5 separate regions of the Homo sapiens genome follow, and regions 2, 3, 4 and 5 are each linked to region 1. The links are contacts of gene promoters, found by promoter capture Hi-C in blood cells and fetal thymus (Javierre and others, 2016). All regions are on one chromosome and are shown on one strand. Each heading gives the region's core, a stretch centred on a gene start or on the middle of the fragment in contact. The rest is flanking DNA. Distances are from core to core; before and after follow the strand shown. Region 1 holds the start of CEP68 (centrosomal protein 68). Region 2 overlaps AFTPH (aftiphilin). Region 3 overlaps LINC02579 (long intergenic non-protein coding RNA 2579). Region 4 has its middle 5.0 kb from the start of SPRED2. Region 5 overlaps SPRED2 (sprouty related EVH1 domain containing 2).

Evidence for each region. Contacts are between HindIII fragments. The CHiCAGO score rates a contact against its expected background, and 5 or more counts as called.
Region 2: a fragment that was not itself captured here is called in contact with the fragment with the promoter of CEP68 in region 1 in 1 of 17 cell types (monocytes); the score reaches 5.4 in monocytes.
Region 3: a fragment that was not itself captured here is called in contact with the fragment with the promoter of CEP68 in region 1 in 1 of 17 cell types (erythroblasts); the score reaches 5.5 in erythroblasts.
Region 4: a contact is called between a fragment that was not itself captured here and the fragment with the promoter of CEP68 in region 1, in 2 of 17 cell types (fetal thymus and erythroblasts). The highest score is 7.0, in fetal thymus.
Region 5: a contact is called between a fragment that was not itself captured here and the fragment with the promoter of CEP68 in region 1, in 1 of 17 cell types (fetal thymus). The highest score is 5.7, in fetal thymus.

Annotation. Positions count from the first base shown.
Region 1 is chr2:65,055,075-65,057,793 of GRCh38, reverse strand. It overlaps CEP68 (centrosomal protein 68), which reads right to left and starts at 1,378. Exons shown (of 7, transcript NM_015147.3): 1 at 1,266-1,378. RefSeq lists silencers at 146-225, 236-285, 916-1,255, 1,336-1,445 and an enhancer at 1,546-1,785. The HindIII fragment of the contact is 3,790 bases long and covers 289-2,719 here.
Region 2 is chr2:64,552,801-64,555,519 of GRCh38, reverse strand. AFTPH (aftiphilin) reads right to left here. Exons shown (of 10, transcript NM_203437.4): 2 at 2,111-2,719. All of the region lies in intron 5 of LOC105374773 (a long non-coding RNA gene), which reads left to right. Among named protein-coding and RNA genes, the nearest start is that of MIR4434, 29 kb to the right of the region's middle. The HindIII fragment of the contact is 597 bases long and covers 1,099-1,695 here.
Region 3 is chr2:64,611,282-64,614,000 of GRCh38, reverse strand. It overlaps LINC02579 (long intergenic non-protein coding RNA 2579), which reads right to left. Exons shown (of 4, transcript NR_034023.1): 2 at 916-1,235; 3 at 711-823. Among named protein-coding and RNA genes, the nearest start is that of LINC02579, 5.3 kb to the right of the region's middle. The HindIII fragment of the contact is 5,627 bases long and covers 1-2,719 here.
Region 4 is chr2:65,436,286-65,439,004 of GRCh38, reverse strand. No RefSeq gene overlaps it. Among named protein-coding and RNA genes, the nearest start is that of SPRED2, 5.0 kb to the right of the region's middle. RefSeq lists an enhancer at 850-1,656 and a silencer at 2,251-2,409. The HindIII fragment of the contact is 3,999 bases long and covers 1-2,719 here.
Region 5 is chr2:65,406,517-65,409,235 of GRCh38, reverse strand. The region is part of intron 1 of SPRED2 (sprouty related EVH1 domain containing 2); the gene reads left to right. Among named protein-coding and RNA genes, the nearest start is that of SPRED2, 25 kb to the left of the region's middle. RefSeq lists an enhancer at 2,247-2,296. The HindIII fragment of the contact is 615 bases long and covers 1,066-1,680 here.

The sequences.
Region 1 (2,719 bases), core at 129-2,628:
AGCCTGTTTGACTTAGAGAGCCTGAGCTTAGCTGCCTTCCTAACCTGTAAGAATAACTCGCTCAAGAAGTTAAATAAATGTTTCTGTTGTGTCACCTTTAGACTACCACGCTGATTTTGTTTCCTTTTGGCTTCCTTCCATCATTGAGTGCCTTTTATGTTCCAAGCATTGTGCTAGGGGCTGGGGAAACCACAATACAGTGTGATGAGTAAAAACAGAGGCTGCAGAAGGTAGCCCAAAAAAGGGAGGAGTTATCAGTCGCAGGGTGGGGAAGTGCTTTAAAAAGCTTTGCGCAAAAGAGGTTAAACTGAATTCCTTGGGTTTTTTGTTGTTGTTGTTTTCTAAGTGGGCCAGAATTGACTCAACAGAGGGTGGGAAAGGGGAATGGAGGGAACAAAGTAAAAAGTGGTGACTTCTAGATCTTTCAACTAAACCCAAGGCAAACTGACCCAACAACCTTTGTTACACACTTTAACACAACACTCTTCATACCCTAGATCTGAGAACTGTTAGATTATTTACAAACGCTACCTCCCTTCGTGGTCCTGATGAATTCCCAGTGAGGTCCAATCTGCCCTGGCAGGCTTCCGCTCATTTTTGTTACAAACAATACACTAAACCCAACCTACTAATCATCAAGGGCCTGGAACAGGTTTTGGACATTCGTCCCCAGGCTGCTGAGAACTGTTCTAGTGATGACAGTTAGAAAGGGTAGCCCTCCGAGGCAAAAAAAATGAGACATCTTGATTTTTTCTCTCCGCATCTGGGCGCGGCGATAAGAAGACATCACTGGTCTCCATCTTTCCAGGGGGAAAGGCCCGAGCTGCATTAGCCCCGACTGGGGAGCTGGGTAAACAGCCCACGCCCGGGAGAGGCCTGAGGGAAAGTGACCTCCCCCGGGGCCCAGGCCGACCAGCGGCGCAGCTGCTCGGCCGCCAGATGCGCGGACTCGCGCACTCCCTCGCCGCGCCCGGGCATTCCCAAGCCCAGCCGCCCGCCTCGGCCCCGACCCCTCGGCCGCCACAGCACACGCCGTTCCGCTCGCAAGATGGAGGCGAAGGCACGAGGCGCCCCCGCCCCCCAGGGAGCCTTTGTGCCCTTGCCGGCGGGGACGCGAGGCCAGACGGCCCGCACCGCAAGGGCCCCGCAGGCACCGAAGAGACGCGGGGGAGGGGGCCGGGCGCGCGCGCGGATCTAGCCCGGGCCACCGCCCCCAGCGCCGCGGCACCCCCGACACCAGCACCCGCACGCGGGACACTGCCTACCTACCGCACCGCGAACGCTTCGCACGTCCGGAGCGGTCTCAGCAGCCCCATGCGCTGGCCCCGAGCTGGCGGACCCTGACTGCAACTGCGGCCCTCCAACCGCAGCCCAAAACGCGCAGGGCAGGACCGAGCGCCAACCACGCCCTTCGGCCGCGCTGACCACGCCCTTCTTCCCGCCCCTTCTCCCTCCGCGGGAGGGCTTTCGGCAATTTCGCGCAGCGAATCGCAGCTCTAAGTCCGCGGCTCCACCAATACGTGGACGCTCCTGCAAGATGAGCCCGCCCCCTACTTCGTCCTGGCCTATGGGAAGCCGGGACTTCTTCAGCGGCTGTCCTCCCTCGCTTTTGGAGCTCCGACCTCAGCTTCGCCTGCGAGCTGGGTTGTGTAAAGGCTGGTCATTTTGGGGCGCTTAGGGGTGGGTGCCGGGGGGCGCGCTTTCCCTCGTGAAGGTCGCTCCAGGAGTCATGCGTACATTCGTTCATTTTGCTCTGGACGCACTGATGTTCCCGGCTCGCCGCCGTGCCGCAGTCACGAGGCTCTCCGAACGCCTTTCACTGTGTTTCTGTTTACATTCGCGTCTGCAAGACCCGGCGGCGCGACCGAGGCCCGAACAGGTGCTGCGAGGCGGGGCGGGGAGCCAGTGCTGAGGGGAGCTCCCCAGGCCGGGTGGTTGAAGACAGCTTCTGGGGGGAGGTGGAGCTCTGGCTCGTGGAGAATGGGAAGGGTGTGGAAAATGAACTGGTAGCTACTTAGCCACTCTGAGCAGCCTGCTCTGATGGGAAATCGGTGATGGAGTCGGAGGGAAGTGGGAGGCAGCTTGTGGGAGGCCAGGGTGCTCACTCTCTCCCCTGCCAGCATGGGACCTAGTAACTTTCATACATCTCTATCTATCTATCTATTTTGCAAAGATGGGGTCTTGCTGTGTTGCCCAGGCTGGGCTTGAACTCCTGGACTCAGACGATCCTCCCGCCTCGGCCTCCCAAAGTGCTGGAATTACAGGTGTGAGCCACTGCATCCCATCCCCTAGGAGCTTAATGACACTGCCCTTTAGCTTTTACTGCTTAGCAGAATCCGGAGGCATAGAGGAACTACCACCAGGGTGGCGTGGGGAAGAGGCCCTCCCTTCTGATGATTTTCTCTCAGCAGCACTTTCAGCAATCTGGCTTCAACTGAATATCTCCCCAGTTCATAAAACAGGCGTCTGTAAATGTCAACCCCAGCTGGGTGCAGGGTACAAATTTTTTCCTACAGAGCTCTTGAGTCCCAGGTAGTTTAGGAGACAAGGACTTGTTTGGTTTTCCCAGACCTGTCAGGACAGCTCAGAGGTTTTGTCTAACCCAGGGGCCACAAACTTTGGACAACAGCAGCAGCTAGCCCACAGATGGTTTTATTTGGGCATCGCATAGCTTTTCTTTGTTTGTTTGCTTTTGTTTTTTAATAAGAATTTGAATCCC
Region 2 (2,719 bases), core at 148-2,647, 500 kb after region 1:
GTGTGATCTCGGCTCACTGCAACCTCCACCTGCTGGGTTCAAGTTATTCTCCTGTCTCAGCCTCCTGAGTAGCTGGGATTACAGATGCACGTCACCACGCCCAGCTAATTTTTGTATTTTTAGTAGAGACAGGGTCTCACCATGTTGGCCAGGCAGGGCTAGAACTCCTGACCTCAAGTGATCCACCCACTTCAGCCTCCCAAAGTGCTGTGATTACAGGCATGAGCCACTGCACCTGGTCTCAGAAACTCTTAATGCATCTTGCCCCATCTATAGTTTGTTTTATTTTTATAAAAAAAAGAATCATACTATAAAATTCTTATTTTCTAGCAGATTATTTCACTCATTTTAAAATTTCCTTTTATATTCACAAAAGTTCTTTGAAGTAGGTATTACCTTCTTTGTATATACAGCTGAATTCAGAAGTAACCTATCCAAAAATCATAAGGCTTTTTAAGAGGCTGGGTCAAAATTCAAACTCAGATCTGTCAGATTCCATGAAGCCCATACGCTTTATTATCTCCTATATCCAGTTATCAAATTATACATAAATAACTTCAATCAACTTGTATGATGCAAGAAATTCCTACTTGAGTGGTCACACTTTAAAAAATTCATTATCTGATGATGTTAAAAGTTCTAAGGCTACAAATTAAAGATCACCCAATACCAGTGTCACCCTATCCTCTAGTGAGATGAAACTAAATAGGGAAAGGGTTAGGTCAAAAGCAACAGTCCTCATTTAGCATCATAATTAGTTCACTTCTTGTTTAAAATGGCAAGGTTCTGCCTAAATAATGAACTGCTCAATAGGAATAATACACATTAGCTAAACCATGTAATAACTGAATTAGCAAATTAAACTACTTTGACACAAAAGCCAACTAAAAAGCGATTAGCTATGCACACCAACTGGTAATACCATAATTTCTCTAATATCTTACTGTCTCAAAGTTATCAAGGCAATGAAATATAAGTATTTCAATTACAAAGACTTTGGAAAGATTTCCAGTTGAAAATGGTTTTCTTAGCAGAAGATAACTGGAGAAATAAAGTTTGTAGATTCTGAGTTTATTAACAGTATATTTAAAATAAGCTTGTGGATCAGGTGTTAGTTACATATATCAATTGTCAGTATAAGGCAGTGAGGTTCAAGGGAGTGCCCTCTTCCACACCCCTGGAGTTGAAAAAAGGTAAAGTTTAGCACAGAGTAGAACTCTGGACTGGGGAACAACCTAGATATCAAGCTACACCTCTAGGGGCTACTTTAGGTCAAAGTGAATCTTAATGAATCTTTTCTGAAAGAGTCTGAATCAAAAAAGGATAATGTATAGGAGGTAAGGGGTAAAAATATTCTCCCTGACACACCTACTCTCTAGGAAGAGCTAACAAGTACATTTGTAAGAAAGTATAGGCAAATAAATACAACTACAATAAGTGAACCTATAGTTATTTCTTATTTTAGGACTAAACCTTAATTCATCTCATACCCTCACCCCAAGTCTTTTAGCAGCTGCTAAATTATGAGGAAAAAGAAAAACTTGCTTTTTTCTAGTTGTTTTTCTGTTCTTCAATTCACTATAGCCTTTGGCACAGAATGAGGTTTCAAATTCTGCTTGTTCTCTCCTGGAATCAAAACCGTACTTGAATTTCCTAGGTCTTTGATGGAAAAAATTAACATTCTATTCTTAAGCTTAAAAAAAAAAAGATCCAAATCTCAGTTTAACCTTCTTTTAAAATCACTGTAAAGGGTAATACTGAAGGATTGACTGGAACCGTCAATTAGGTAATAAGTGTGGGTTTTTTTTTTTTTTTTTAACATATATGGTATTTATAGTCACCAAAAAATCCAAGTTGATGAGTATCTGTAAATATTAACGAAACTCATTGAGATAAAGAAAAATCTTACTGCGCTTTACTATAGGACTATTTGTAGTTTCCCAAAGGGTTGTGAAAAATGTAACCAACCCACAAATCAGACAGGCATTATACATCATAACGAGACTCCTTTAACAAGTACTCAGTTGAAAAAATATTTTTTGAAAAGCTGAAATTAGAAGCCTCCACAACAATTAATACATCATACAAAATAGAGAAAATTAGTAAATACCTGAACTGAAGTGGCTGATTCCTGTAAATGGCCACTAGCAACTGCTCCTTTGGAAGTTGCTGAAGGTACACTGTGCGTTTTGGGGGTTCCTGGAGTATCAATATTTTCATCTGTCCTATGTGACTGCCAGGCTTCCTTTCGATGATGAGATTCAGTAGCCTGCTGGTCTCCAAAAGCAGCCCAAGAACAACTATCTTTTTGTTCATCCTCAAAAGCATTCCAATCTACAACTTGGCTAGGACCAGCTGAACTGAAGTCTGCAAAATCATCAGAGTCTTGAAAACCATTGCAGTCATCCTGAATATTTGGCACAGAATCAAAATGTCCAATCTCACCTTCTTGCCCATTTTTAAGTTTTGCAACAGGTTCAGTGCCTGTTCCACTAGATTTTCTTGCCAATTGACATTCTTCTGATAAATTATCAGAAGTCTGTTTTAGGTCTGACTTTGTTAATATTGTCTCCTCTTGGCAAGAAACAGCATTTATATCCCCAAATTCTCCAAAGTCATCACCTGGTTCACTAAAATGTGGAAAGTGCTCTGAAGACTCTTCAAAAGTGGCATCACTCATTGAATCTTGAGTACCAGTAACAAAAGGTGGAGTTGAGCC
Region 3 (2,719 bases), core at 138-2,637, 440 kb after region 1:
TTATTAATTGGGGTCAACAGGTTTTCATGTGCCCATTAGCCATTTTTATTTTGTCTTTGTGAATTGCCCATTCATGTCTTTTGTTCATTTCTCTATTGGATATTCTTTCTAACACAGTTGTCTTATTTTAGGTGAGTAATTCTTAGCTCTGGCATATTAGAATCACCTGGAAGACTTTTTAAAACACACATATCACACACACAAGCACACATACACACACCCCACACACAAGGAAAGCAGGCAAGAAAGCATCCCATCTCAAGATAAATATTTGGTGGGGCCTGGGTATGAGTATTTTTTGAAGTGTTCTTGTGCTTCTAATTTGCAGCCGTGGTTGAAAACCACTGTTATACATCAGATTTCTCCCACTGTCTGGCTCCAAATGCTTTCACTGCAGAATCTATTCTCATTTCGTTGACACCCAGTTTTCTCTTGTGAAAAATGGGCAGCAGAACTGCAAAGCAACACAGCACCCCCTCCCAAATTCTGAAAATCCCATGGGGGAGACCGAAGTTTCGGGAAGGAGGGTGAGACAGACGTTGTGGTCAGGCTCTTTGCCAGGTGGATTGGAAAAAATTAAAAGAACTTTCTCAAGCAACGAGACTTGCCCTGTAGACAGTGTGCGCTCTCAGTGGAGGAGGAGAGAGCTGGGGTCTTATGGGACATTTGCTTTTCTATTGCACCCATCTTCAGATACATAGCAATCTTACCCTTCTGAGGACTTTGAGGCTGAAGATTAGCACTTTATCTGAAGCAGTTCATCTCCTTTCATGAGAGACTGGAGAAGTTTGGGCCCAAGGAACTGAGTCCTTCAGGAGAGAACCTGTCAAGGCATCAGAGGGATCACCTGGGGATACAGGGGCTCCTCCACCACCTCTAGCCCTCTTGAGGGATTTATGACATTCTCACACTTACTTGAATTCATTTCTATTAAAATGCACAGGAGCCGCTCCCCTTCCTCTTCACCTCTGTTCCACCTCAGGGCGTGGGGTCCCACCTGGGGGACAGGATGGAATGAAAGGGTCTTTCCAGTGTTCAGTCAGGAAGGTCCCTGGAAACCCCCAGGCTGGCTCAGTGCCCTTCCATGTTGGAGACTGCTGAGGCCTCGTGGAGGATGACAGCAAATTTGGGTCCTCCAGGTGCTGTTGCTCCTGAAGTTGAAAGAATATGGTCAACGGCCTGAATCCTAGTCCACTTGGTGTCAGGTGTGTGGTCCCGGGCCTCAGTTTCTGCATCTGTAAAATGGAGATAGTAATGTTGATATTCAAGGTTATAACAGGACTAAAAACAGAGCACATACAACACTGTAGATGCTTGATTAATGCCAAGGGTGATTTGTGGAGGTCCCTTCATGCCCTCACCCTCTCCAGTCAGGGCTAAGGGCTTTGAGTTTAGCTCCAGACTCTCCATCCTTTCTTTTTTCTTCTGAGATGGAGTTTCACTCTTGTTGCCCAGGCTAGAGTGCAATGGCGCGATCTCGGCTCACTGCAACCTCCTCCGCCTCCCGGGTTCAAGCAATTCTCCTGCCTCAGCCTCCCAAGTAGCTGGGATTACAGGCATGCTCACCATGACCGGCTAATTTTGTTAGAGGTGGGGTTTCACCATATTGATCAGGCTGGTCTCAAACTCCCGACCTCAGGTGATCCACCCGCCTTGGTTTCCCAAAGTGCTGGGATTACAGGCGTGAGCCACTGTGCCCGTTGACTCTCCATCCTTTCATCCCCAAGCCATCCTCCATTATTCTGTTGCTCAGGGGGCACAGGAGGCAACCCCCACCCAACTGGTCCCCCAGCCTCCAGGGCGGTGCAGCACCTATGCCAGAAGCTGTGCCCCTTGGCTGGCATCCTGTATCCTGTCTCCCACCCTTTCCCTGTGAACCCCAAGCAACCTCAACCAGTTCCTCGCTACCCTTGCACTTTCCTGCCCAGACTTGACTTTAGAAATTCTATTGTAAATGTAATTTTTATTGAGCACTTACTCTGTGCCAGGGACCATGTTTTGTATTCATTACCTTATTAATTGCTCACAAAAACCTTTCATTATCCCATTTTACAGACGGGAAAGCCAGACTAGTTAGTGAAACCTGCCCAAAGCTACAGGGCATCAGGGAGCAGAGCTGGGACTCTGACCCCACCCTGCTCTGCTGACCTCCTAGGTGCCAGCTCCCAGGGAACTTAGATTTCAGGGGATGTCTTCTGTCCTTCCCCTGAGCTCCCACTGCGTCCTGCCCCTCTCTCTCTTATACACTTGTCCCACCCTGCCCCACACTGCGATTTTCTGGCTACCTCTTATCTCCATTGACCATGATGAGTTCCTCCAAGGCAGAAAATACGTCTTTGTAGCTTATTCATCTTTGAGTCTGGCACAATGCTTAGAACATTGCAGGTTCTTAAATTATTTTTCTAATTCAAAAGTAACATGTGCTCATTATGGAAAACAGACAAAATAAAGCAGAAACCAAATATCACCTATGAACCCATCACCCAAAGAAAATCATTGTTAATATTTTGACAAACTCTCTTCCAGTCCTTTTTAAAAATATATGTTTCCTTAGGCAAATAATATGTATTTTGCATAAAGTAGGTATCATACAATACCATTTTCTATGCTGCTTTTTACCTCATATCATGAGCAATTCTCCATGTCATTAGAACTGTTTTGAAAATGGGATTTTTTGATGGCTGCAGATTGTTCTCTCATGTGACTGAGCTCTCTTCTT
Region 4 (2,719 bases), core at 65-2,564, 380 kb before region 1:
ACACCCAATTTCCCAAGGAAAAGGGAAAGAAACTTGGAATTTATCCTAGACCTCTCAATGAGCCCCCATATCTAACAGATCATAAAGCCAAGTCATTTCTACCCCATTTGTGTCTTTGGAATTGGTTACTTCTTTCCATGGCCCTTGTCACTGTGCTTTATCATGCATTGTTACTCCTGTCATGGAAGAGGAAAATTTCTCCCAAACCAGTCTTTGCTCTGCTCCCAACAAACCATCCTTCAAGCCTAGAATAACCTATTAAAGTATAAAACCTGAGCCTAGCATTCCCTGCTTAAACTATTTGGTTATGTAACTTGTAAAACTTGTTCCACAAATTTGGTGATTTTCTCAGCTGATCACTTGAGCCCCTCCAGCTCCCCTGGTGGGAGAGAGCCTACTTCTCTTAGGTTGGGTTCCCTAGAAACAGAGCCCAAGCTGGGATCAATGTTCATTGTTATTTTAGGAGCCTCACTGCTCCCTGCCTGTGGGCTGCCTGCCTAGGTAGAATACAGTGTCTTTGGTAAGGAGATTGGGGATTGGCCTCCCAAGAGGCCCAGCGCTCCTCATGCAAATTGCTTTTACCCAGTGACAAGCTCTACCAGCCTGGGGTCTCAGAGTGGGGCCTTCACCCAGTCACAAAACATCCTGTTATGCCAGGGGTCAAAAGCTCAAATGCCTCCAGGAGCCAGAAGCCTGACAGACAGGGCAGCCTCCACTCAGCAACCATCCACTGTTACCCCGCAGAAATCTGGCACTCACAGTTGCTAAGTCTTTAATTTTTTTCAGGAGGAACCAAAAATATTGAGTTTTATGTGAAATATTCTGGTTTTAAGCTGTTAGCTTGATTAAAAAACAACAACAACAACAAAAAAAAACAGGCAAAACAAAACTTGTCTGGGGCCTTATCTGGCCTAGGAGCTGTCAGTTTGTGAATTTGGTTTGATGCCCTAATCCCAGAACAATGGATGCCCACTTGCCCCACATTTGCATAACTTTGGGAGCCACTGCAGTGATCTGGGACTAGACAAAGATCAGCTGTGAATCGACTACAAAAGGTTCCATGATTTCAAAATAAAGGGTAACCTTCTTCAGCAAGGCCTGTGTGACCTCCCTGACCTGGCTTCTACCCTTCTCCACCCTTTCCCGCACCTCCTTCCCCCTCCTCCCAAAGTTATTTCGCACCTAGGGCCTTTGTGGTAACCCGGCTCTTTATCCCCGAGATCTCTCCCCTTCCAGTTATCTAAGGGCACTCCCAGCATCTTTCAAGGATCCTTTCCCTGACCCCTGCTTTCTCTTCTGCTTACTCCATTTTTCAGAGCTGTTACCTCGCGGCCTCATGTGTTTTTTACATGCCTGTTGCCCCAGCTGACCGAATCCCTGGAGGGAAGGAGCCTGGGTTTCTTCACTCCTGTATCCCCACTGCCTCATAGAGCCCTGGTGCTTTCAAGGCAGACTGGAGCAATGGGTATCCAGTGAAAAAAATCATGACCTTGACCATTGCCCTTCACATGTCAGAAATGCATTTGTGAAGAACTGGCCATTTTTATGTTAAGAAATTAAGTTGAAATCTGGTATTCATGAGAAGACGAAAACTTGCTTCATCCTTTAATTTTTAAAATGACTACCTATTGTTGAAAAACTGTTGGAAAAAAAATACGTTTTAAAACTTACTCAGCTTTGGACCTCGCTGAGGCTTCCAAGAGGTTCTGGAACTAGAGAATGGCTACAGTGACCAGCATTCGCTTTTCTCGAGACCCTCAAGGGTTCTCAGGGCTCATCTTAAAGTGGGGGATGAGAGGGGAGAGGGGATGTGTGCTGCCTCCCTGGGAGGGCAGAAACCAGCTCCTCTGAATGAAACAGCACTTTCCACAGAGACAGCGGCCTAGGGTGTGAGGGCGAGCAAGCCGCAGTCGAAAGCCCCTTTGCATAATCCATTCTTAAATTGACTGAGGCTTGTACAGTTGTAAACTGAAACTCCAGAGGCAAACCCTGAGCGGTTACATTTTCTCGAAAAGAATGTTTCCCAGCCTGTCAATTATTTCCTGGTCTCCGTCCCTCCCCAACGCGCGCACACACCCAACTTTTAGTAGCCAGCTGCCTTGACATTGAGTCTCTCTCCTACCTGAAGTGGAGCACCTCAGGAAGCAGCGAGGCTGCCGTTTCATTCATAATACATGAACTCAGGGGAGGAGGGAGGCGGGGGCAGGGGCCTTTCATCTCTGCTATTTAAAATCCCGGCATTGCAGCTGAAAGGGAAAACGACCTGGGATTGAACGGCACCGGGGATGAAGCATTGCACGATAACGGCACAACCGAGCGCGTCAGCGGCCCGCCCGCCGGCTATTTATACCGCGCGGATTATGCAATCGGGCTCCAGCCATTCATGCCCCGACTGGGCCGCCGCACGCCCGGGGCGGGGGGGCCTCATTCCCGGGCGCCGGGTCAGTTTCTAAGTTTGCATCATCCCCTGCATTACGAGAGAGCTTGGGTTTCCATTCCTGCCAGCGGGGCTTGGGGGAGACAGCTGGGCTACAAACTCACTTGGCACACACGACTGCTTACTTAAACATCATAATAAAGGCACCAGATCGCCCGAGGCGCGGCCCGGCCGCGCGCAGGGTTGAGCTCGGGGAGACCGGAAGGAACTGATAACCGAGCGCTAATGACACCCCCTCCCTCCGCGTCGGAAGTGTCCTCGGAGCGCCGGTCATTGAGAAAT
Region 5 (2,719 bases), core at 124-2,623, 350 kb before region 1:
TGCTACTGTGTTAGACAGTACCTCTTAGACTAGGACAGACCTGGGTGTGAATTTCCCTTTGCTGCTTATTAGCTGTGCGACCAGTGTTAAATTACCTGAACCTTTCAAAAACTTCAGTGTCCTTGAATATAGAAAAAGGGCTCATAATACTTCCTTTTCTGGGCTGTTGTATTAAGTCAGTTGATTTATGTGCATAAAGGTCTGGGGTCGATGAAGAGGTGATCTGTAAATGACATCTGTGACTTTTGAGATATCTACAGGTAATTGTGGTCTCACACAGGCTAAGGACTATAGGATATAAGGGTTATGATGAAAGGCAGAATTAGGGCAATATTTATGGGCTATTAAGAACTTTAGAGCCAGGTGCAGTGGCTCACGCTTGTAATCCCAGCACTTTGGGAGGCCAAGGCAGGCGGATCACAAAGTCAGGAGTTCAAGACCAGCCTGGCCAGTATAGTGGAACCCCATCTCTACTAAAAATACAAAAATTAGCTGGGTGTGGTGGCACGTGACTATTGTCCCAGCTACTCAGGAGGCTGAGGCAGAAGAATTGCTTGATCCCAGAAGGCAGAGGTTGCAGATCGCGCCACTGCACTCCAGCCTAGGTGACAGAGTGAGACTCCGTCTCAAAAAAAAAAAAAAGAACTTCAAAAGTCCCCTTATGTAACTGACTAATTCCTGTGGCTGGCGACTGGGATTATACATACAGACATTGGAAGGGGGCTCTGGTTCTGGTCCGAGCAATTTGCCTGGAGCTCTATGATCAATTCAGAGAAGAAGGGATACAAGGAATTCCTACAGGAATCTGTGGCATCATAAAAACAGCTTCTGCCTCAAAGTCAGGGGAGCTGATTTTGAATTCTGACTCTACCTTATACTGCATATTTATCTTCCCAAACTTTAGCTTTCTTGTCTGTCAAATAGGACTCATAGTATGAGGCTTGTGAGGATTAAATTACATGTAGCACATGAAAGTGTCCGCAGCAGTGTCTGACATGTTTGAGGTGCCTAATACATGCCGGGTGATCATTACTGGTGTCTGGAAAGAAGTTTCAGCCTAAAGCTTTGTTGAAAGGACCCAAGGTCTGGGCAGAAGGGAAGGATCTTGCTCCTCTGATAAGATCTTAAGAAGATGGAACCAGCAGGCAAGGAGAGAAGCTCAAGAGACTGGTTTTATGAGGAGCTGAAATCAGACTGATGGGTAAAAGGAAGATAGCCTGGGTTGGTGGCCTATTAGGGAATGCCTCTCTACACAGGGACCATGTCATAATCGTTTTGATAACATTCTTTCTTCTTGCCCCTTTAGACCTCTGGCTCCCTTGCCCAGCTTTTGATATTTTGTTGTTGTTTGTTCTGAGAAGTAAAAATATAGCTAGAGCTTTGCACTCGGTCATGTTAGTATTTTAAGACACTCCCAAGAGTGGAAGAGAGAACTGTCCTCCAGTTGGAGTTATGGGGAGGTTCCCTGTGCTCCACCTTTCCCACCCTTTTCTGTCTACCTGTGTGCACGGAGGCATGAGTGGATACCGCGTCTCCACGGGTGAAAGGACAAGTGATCCAGCTGAGGAGAGTTGATCTTTTGGTTTAACCAAACCAGACACCCAAACCTAGATTTCCAAGGCATGTGAACAGGGATGTGCATGACAGTCATTGACATGAAGACTCAGAATGAGATAAGCTTTAAGTTGGCAGCACTTCCCACCCCCTGCAGAGAGGAAGTTTGCATGCCATGCACCTACCTTCTTGATTGCAGCTCTCATGGCTACACAGCAATAGATTAGAACCCCCTCGTGCTGAATCTTGACTTGATGAAGACAATCAAAATGCCCCCCAAAATGCCCCCCAATACACAACACACGCACACACACACACCTGCAGCCACCTCAGTTTCCTGTTAAGTTATTGTGGTTTGGGAGTCTTCATTGTCAGTTCACATTAGCTGTGAAGTCAGAATCCTTCTGTCATGGGACTTTTAGCAAAAAAAAAAAAAGGAGCCAGCGCCCCATTTGAGAAAGAGACTATGGCTCACACCTGTAATTCCAGCACTTTGGGAGGCCAAGGCGGGCAGATCATGGGGTCAGGAGATCGAGACCATCCTGGCTAACATGGTGAAACCCCATCTCTACTAAAAATACAAAAAATTAGCCGGGCATGGTGGTGGGTGCCTGTAGTCCCAGCTACTCAGGAGCTGAGGCAGGAGAATGGCGTGAACCCAGGAGGTGGAGCTTGCAGTGAGCCGAGATGGCACCACTGCACTCCAGCCTGGGCGACAGAGCGAGACTCCGTCTCAAAAAAAAAAAAAAAGAGAGACTAAACTTTCCACTGTCCAGTAACTTGGACCAGAGCCCTGCCTGAGCCTCCAAGGCAGGCAGCTTGATGGAGGGCCCTGCCTCACTCTCAAGGCTGAGCTCTCAGGAAAGGTGGATTTTATCTCTAAGGAAGTGCGGCTGCCTTTATCAGGCCATTCTGGTGGAACAGGTTAGCTTCCTGCAAGGGTGGAAAGGAAAACGATGTTACTATTTTTAGCCTGCCTCTTGTGTACAGCAAGGTGGGCTGATGTGCTAAGCAGAAGGAAAGTGAAGTGTGAGTTGCTTTCTGCCCCCAACCTTCCATTTCCACCCCTACTTCCCAAAACCTCCCCCAGAGGTGGAATGTCAGGACATCTCACATGTGGTGCACGAAGAGTATAATGACCAACTTTATTTCTACAACTAGTGAG